2 separate regions of the Homo sapiens genome follow, and region 1 is linked to region 2. The links are contacts of gene promoters, found by promoter capture Hi-C in blood cells and fetal thymus (Javierre and others, 2016). All regions are on one chromosome and are shown on one strand. The core of a region is centred on a gene start or on the middle of the fragment in contact, and the rest is flanking DNA. Distances in the headings are between cores, read along the strand shown. Region 1 overlaps SMIM38 (small integral membrane protein 38). Region 2 holds the start of LTO1 (LTO1 maturation factor of ABCE1).

Region 1 (3,604 bases), core at 342-2,841, 510 kb before region 2:
TCCGGGTTGCCCAGGGCTGTCTTGTTTTTAAAATGGAAAGTTCGATGTCCTGGAAAACCCCTCAGTCCTGGGCAAACCAGGTCACGCTGGATAGAAGGAGTTAGACATTCATATGATGTGCCGATGTCTTGCCAGTTGTAGAGTTTTGTGTAAACCTGTGTGTGGCCTGCGTGTCCACATGGGTGTGTAGGATGGCACCTACACACATACCTGAGGTCACCTCTTGGTCCAGTGAGCCAGAATCCTGGGACTTCATCATCTTTTTTTTTTTTTTTTTTGAGATGGAATCTCACTCTGTCACCCAGGCTGGAGGGCAGTGGCGCAATCTTGGCTCACTGCAACCTCCGCCTCTGGGGCTCAAGCAATTCTCCTGCCTCAGCCTCCCGAGTAGCTGGGATTATAGGCGTGTGCCACCACGCCCTGCTGATTTTTGTATTTTTTAGTAGAGATGGTGTTTCACTATATTGGCCAGGCTGGTCTTGAACTCCTGACCTCAAGTGATCTGCCTGCCTTGGCCTCCCGAAATGCTGGGGTTACAGGCATGAGCTACCATGCCCGGCCTCAGAATCCTGGGACTTCTGCTGGAGCCAGGGGTCAGAACAGACTCCTCTACTGGGACTGCCTGGCAGGGAGGACAGACGCTCAAGGCGGCCCCATGAGAACACAGCCACCTGGAAAAATGGTGGAAGGGAAGATTCTGCCAACCTCCTCCGACTCCCTATCTCAGTTACACTGGTCCATAATTTCTTTTCTTTTTCTTAAGTCTGTTTCATTGGTTTCTGTTCCTGGAAAATGGACACAATTCTGATGAATTCATGTATTCTGCATCCACGTGTCAGCATCTCCAGCCTTGTGACGCAGTGCCTGGCTCAGAACAGGCAATCAGGCCATGGCATCTGAATGAATGAGAGGGTGTGCCCTGGCCGTATCTCAGGCAGCAGATGCATTCAGCTGCAGGTAACAGACACGTAGACAAACAGTGGCTTAAAAAAGAGAGGCTTTAAAAGTATTTTGTTTTTCTTTCTTCACGTAGCAAGAAGTCTGGCATTTGGCATTCCCAGGCTGTGGCGTGACAGCTTTGTGAAGTTATCAGGGTCTCAGACCCTGACATATTTCTGCTCTGCTACCCTCAGCATGTAGATTTGATCTTCACGGCTACAAGAAACCTGCTGCTACTGCAGGCATCTTACACGAGTTCCAGGCAGGAAGAGAAAGGAAAGGGTGACAGAGACAGAAAGCAATGTCCCCAGATACCCTTAGTTTTCCATCTCATAAGCCAGAATGATGTCACGTGGCATCCCTGGATGCACAGGAGGCTGAGAGATAGTGGCGTTTGTTAGCTGGTCTCCTAGCCATCCTGAATGCCAAGTTTGTTATAAAGAAACAGAGGCAAAATGGCGATCAGGCAGGCAACTGGGTGGTCTCTGCCACGGGCCCCTTGGCCATTCTTTGTAATGATGGTCTTTGTCTTGGACCCTATTTTGGATATTTGGGCACCTTTGTGGTACCCTTATGTGCTGGTTTTGCTGTTGTCTGCCCTTCAGGAATAGCAGCTGAGTCAAGCTGTCCTTGGCTGCTCCAATCTGGAGTCAGAGGTTGGAGATTTCCATGGCTCCCCATGGCTCCTTGGGGCCTCCTAAGAAAATGTTTTAATAAGGAAGTCCAAGGCTGAGACAGACATGCTCCTTCTTAGAGACACATGGGAACATGCCTCTGCTCACAGCTGGTAGCCACAGATGTAAACCGTAGCCCATGGAACGGAGACAGTGAAGAATTGATGGATAAATGAATAATGATGATGGACAGCAGATGTATAAAAGGCATAAAAGGATAGTGTTAGGGCTGGAATGTCTTCCCCCCAATTCATATGTTGAACCTTTAATGCCTAATACTTCAGAAAGAGACTGTGTTTGAAGATATGGTCTTTACAGAGGGAATAAAGTTAAAATAAGGTCATTAGGGTGAGCCCTAATCCAAAGGATGGGTGTCCTAATCAGAGGAGGAGATTAGGACCCAGACACACACACACACACAGAGCCAGGTGAGGACACAGGGAGAAAATGGCCACGTACAAGCCAAGATGAGAGGACTCAGGAAGAACCAGCCGACTCCACCCTTCAAAACTGTGAGAACATAGATGTCTGCTGTTTGAGCCACCCTGTCTGCAAGCAGTCAGCAAGCATTCATTGAGTGCTTGCAGTATTCAAGGCACCACAGATACAATGTTGAATAAGGCAAAGCACCTGCCCTCAGGTAGCTTGCAGTCAGGGAGGTAAGGGTAGTGGGCAGAGAGACCTGGAAACAGATATTAGACCTGCACTAAGCATGTGTGGTTATTGAACAGTAAAAATGCCACCACAAATTGCGATATGATGTAAGTAAAATGCGTACTGGCTATTGAAGACTTGGCACAGAAAAATAATGTAAAATCTCATTAGTAATGGTTTTATATTGATTACGCATTGAAATAATACTATTTTGGACAGATTGGGTTAAATAAAATATTAAATTTGATTTCGCCTGTTTCTTTTATTTTCATTACTTATTGGCCATGATATTTTATTTAACTTTTAACTTTTATTTTAGATTCAGTGGTACATGTGCATGTTTGTTATACAGGTAAACTCATGGGGGTTTGGTGTACAGATTCTTTGTCACCTGAGTACTAAACTTAGTACCCAAGAATTATTTTATCTGATCCTCTCCCTCCTCCCACCTTCCACCCTCAAGTAGGCCCCAGTGTTTGTTGTTCCCCTTTATGTGACCATGTGTTCTCACAAGTGAGAACATGTGGTATTTGGTTGTCTGTTCCTGTGTTAGTTTGCTATGGACAATGGCCTCCAGCTCCACCCATGTTCCTGCAAAGGACATGATCTTATTCTTTTTTATGGCTGAATAGTATCCCATGGTGTATATGTACCACTTTTTCCTTATCCAGTCTACCATTGATGGGCATTTAGGTTGATTCACCTATTCCTTTTAATAGGTCTTAATATGGCTAGTAGGAAATTTAAAATCACATAGGTAGCTTATATTATTTTTGTTATGGACAGTGCTGTGCTGGACCTTCATAATGCAGTAAAAGGGTGGCGGGTGAATGCATGGTGTGTTACAGGAACGCAGGAGGGAGCTTCTTGGAGGAGGTTCTTAGTCCATTTATGCCTGAGGTTGCCGTTTTTTAAATTTTTGCAATCAGACCTTGGTGATGACCTTGAGCAGTAGGATATATAAATAACTCCCACATGCTCAGCATTCCAATAATGGAACACTAGGCATAAATGGGTTGAGTGATAATGTTTGGACTGCAAACCAGAACCTATGAGATGCAGCTAAAGCAATTCTTGAAGGGAAAGTTATAGCCTTAAATATTCATATTAACCAATAGAAAGAATGAAAACATATGGATTAGGCATATGGCTCAATATATTGAACATAATAGAAAAAACTAAGAAAAACAGAAGGAAGAAATAAAGATAAGAGAGGAAATATATGCATTAAGAAGCAATAGAATTAACAAATGTACCCAAGTGCCAGATTTTTCAGGGGCATAAAAAAGGATGCTGTTAGTCAATCCTATCAAGAAAAAAGAAGAAAACATAAATGA
Region 2 (3,471 bases), core at 214-2,713:
TTTGTCGCCCAGGCTGGAGTGCAGTGGTGCGATCTCGGCTCACTGCAAGCTCTGCTTCCCGGGTTCACGCTCTCCTGCCTCAGCCTCCCAAGTAGCTGAGACTACAGGCGCCCACCACCACATCCGGCTAATTTTTTGTATTTTTAGTAGAGACGGGGTTTCACCATGTTAGCTAGGATGGTCTGGATCTCCTGACCTCGTGATCCGCCCGCCTCGGCCTCCCAAAGTGCTGGGATTACAGGCGTCAGCCACCGCATCTGGCCCGGAATCTACTTTTCAAAGTCTCCTAGATAAGTCTGGTTTGCAGCCAGAGTTAGGGGGCCAAAGTTCTGTGAGTGTTCAAGTAGCACTAGCCCAAGTCAACCGCTTCCAAAAAACTGCAACATACACAGGGTTTGACATCACATGGGTAGGGCAACAGAGAGAAATGGCATCAGATCACCACAAAATGTTCTCCGACTGGTACCCGGAGTAGCACTGACCCTGAGGCCCAACAGTGGAACTGCCACTATCTTAACCTGCAGTCACCAAACATGCAAGGAGTGGGCTGCAGCGCCCCATGAAGCAGGGTGCATAGCTCCCCACTTAATAGTTGTGTGACCCTGGAAAGTGACTGTGCCTCCTAGTCTGTAAATTCCGAAGAATAATAGGATCCACTTACTAAGTAGGGCTGAAGTAGATAACCAGGGTGGAACGTTTAGCTCAGTGTCTGACTCACAGCGCGAGCTAAATAAACGTCAGCGCCTGACTGCTAAATGTTCGGCCGCTTTCTTAACTAACATCTATGGACGCGTCCTCTGGGCCGGGCACTGGAAGTCAGCCAGGAGGCAACTCACAGCTCCCCCACTGTCGCAGCACGAGGGGCTCCCCAGGGGCTCTGGAGGGAAAAGGGGTGTGGTCGGGTACATCTATCAGCACATCCATGAATACTGCCGTATGTCCTATGATTAAGGAACCAGAAAAAAAGGCAGCTCCCAGATGGCAAAGGTCTGTCCTCCCAGAGGACGAGGCGGCCTCGGAGGAGGGGAACCACCAGGCTGAGCAGATGTTTGGGGCAGCCCTGACAGGGAAGGCGGGTCTGGAAGAGCAGCTGGGCACGTGCCCCGCCGGAGCGGGCCAGGAGAAGAGGACCAGAGCATCAGGCCCACACTTGTCCCTGCGTCCACGGCCACCAGGCGCTCCCCAATGCGCACGCCCAAGGGACGCCAGGCTCCAGCAGCCGCCCTGGGCCGCAGCCGGCGGCGAAGCCGCTGGGAGACGACCAGACAGGGCGGGGTGCGGGCCCGGCCTCACCACCCACCTCTCATCCGCCATCACGATGGCATCGAATATGTCCTGACTGCCAGCCATAGCGGCAAGCAGCCCGCCCTTGGCCCCCGGGTTTCTGCAGCCCCGCGGTGCCGTAGCAGACCCGGCAGCTTCAGGCACAAATGCTCCGCTTGGGAGGAGACGAGACCCACTTCCGGAAGCGGCGGCGCGGGGCAGGCCGGGTAAGAACGGCACGCGGGAGGGCCCAAAGCAGCCTGTACATGGCGCATGCGCGGCTGCAGCGGTGGGCGGGGCCGGCCTCGACTGAAGCCCCGCCCTGGGGTCCTTTCGCCCTGCCCAGCTCCAGCAAAGGGCCTGTCTGTCCGCGCTGGGAGCGTCCATTGGCCGCGCGCGTGGAGAGCCGACCTGTATTTTACCACTGCAGATAGAACCGAATTTCCCAAAGTGGCTCCGAAAGAACCAAGGAAGAAATGGGAAGTCATCAGCTGGCGCGGTGGCTCACGCCTGTCATCCCAGCACTTTGGGAGGCCGAGGCGCGCGGATCACCTGAGTTCGGGAGTTCGAGACCAGCCTGGCCAACATGGTGAAACCTCGTCTTTACTGAAAATACAAAAATTAGCCGGGCATGGTGGCAGGCGCCTGTAATCCCAGCTACTCGGGAGGCTGAGGCAGGAGAATCACTGGAAGCTGGGAGGCGGAGGTTGCAGTGAGCCGAGATCGCACCACTGCACTCCAGACTGGCGACAGAGCCAGACTCCGTCAAAAAAAAAAAAAAAAAGGGAAAAGAAATGGGAAGTCATCAAAGAACCGACGCCTCAGGAGGCTCCAGGCCAGGAGGCTCTGCATGTGGGATTTTGGGCAGAAATTTGTCGGTTTTAGTTCTCATATTTGTCATTTCCATGAGATGTGCTTTCTGAACACGATTTTTAAAAAGGGATTTCAAAGTCTAAGCGACAACGGAACTCAGATGAGAAACACCAGAAGCATTCCTAATAAAGTCAGTAGTAAAACCTCACGTGACCACTGAACATCTTTCTACCAGCCCTGGCCAATGCAGTAAAACATGAAGCAAGAAGTGGAAATACCAAAAAAAAAAAAAAAAAAAAAAAAAGGCAGAAATACTACTATTTGCAGATATGATGGCCCACGTGGAAAACCCAAATAGTCACCTAAGACGTTCTCAGAATCCATAATCGCAGCAAGTAGCTATGTGTATGATGAATAGGGAAAAAAACACTTTCTGTTATTCCAACAATAATTGGTAGTAACCTGAGCAGGGGTGGTGATGGGAAAATCGCCTTATGATAGTCATAATACATTTCTTAGAAATAAGAATTTCTAACAATTTGAGCAGGACCCATATAAGGAAAACTACAGCTCTACCATGATTGAGGATTGGGGAACTGAACAAGTGCAGTACCAAAGAAAATTCCATGAGATCTGGTAAAATGTGTCAAAATCCTAAACTTTTTCATCCGTATGAATAAACTAATAAAAATAACTAAGATGTTTTAGAAAAAAATGATTTTCATATCAGATATGAAAAGATAAAGTGTCAATATAAATATTGTGGTATGTTGGTTCAAGAAGTGGCAGACCAGTGAAATAAAGTAAATGGCCCAGACAATGGACTCTCATAGATGTAAAGCCTTCTCATGTGGTAAAAAGAAGAATTACAAATTAATTGGAGAAAGGAAATATTAACTAATAACTATAATGGAAAATTGGTTGTTTGGGAAAAGCTTGGTTCCATTTATGCCTCACACCATTCATCAAAATAATTCCAGATGAGTTAAAGAGTTAACTTAAAAAAATTAAGCACATTGGCTGGGCACGGTGGCTCACGCCTGTAATCCCAGCACTTTGGGAGGCCCAGGCAGGTGGATAACCAGAGTTAGGGAGTTCGAGACCAGCCTGACCAACATGGAGAAACCCCGTCTGTACTAAAACTACAAAATTAGCCTGGCGTGGTGGTGCATGCCTGTAAGCCCAGCTACTCGGGAGGCTGAGGCAGGAGAACCCAGGAGACAGAGGTTGCAGTGAGCCGAGATCACACCATTGCACCCCAGCCTGGGCAACAAGAGCAAAACTCCATCTCTAAATAAATAAATGAATAAAGCACATTTTGCCTGTAATCCCAGCACTTTGGGAGGCCGAGGCGGGCGGATCATGAGGTCAGGAGATCGAGACCATCCTGGCTAA

The links. Contacts are between HindIII fragments. The CHiCAGO score rates a contact against its expected background, and 5 or more counts as called.
Region 1: a fragment that was not itself captured here is called in contact with the fragment with the promoter of LTO1 in region 2 in 2 of 17 cell types (endothelial precursors and M1 macrophages); the score reaches 8.1 in endothelial precursors.

The regions. Positions count from the first base shown.
Region 1 is chr11:69,159,927-69,163,530 of GRCh38, forward strand. It overlaps SMIM38 (small integral membrane protein 38), which reads left to right. Exons shown (of 3, transcript NM_001369201.2): 3 at 1-2,514. The region is part of intron 2 of LOC338694 (a long non-coding RNA gene); the gene reads right to left. Among named protein-coding and RNA genes, the nearest start is that of SMIM38, 5.8 kb to the left of the region's middle. The HindIII fragment of the contact is 8,605 bases long and covers 1-3,604 here.
Region 2 is chr11:69,673,890-69,677,360 of GRCh38, forward strand. It overlaps LTO1 (LTO1 maturation factor of ABCE1), which reads right to left and starts at 1,464. Exons shown (of 5, transcript NM_153451.3): 1 at 1,301-1,464. The coding sequence starts at 1,350. RefSeq lists a silencer at 1,046-1,135 and enhancers at 1,256-1,756, 1,626-1,825. The HindIII fragment of the contact is 5,284 bases long and covers 1-3,009 here.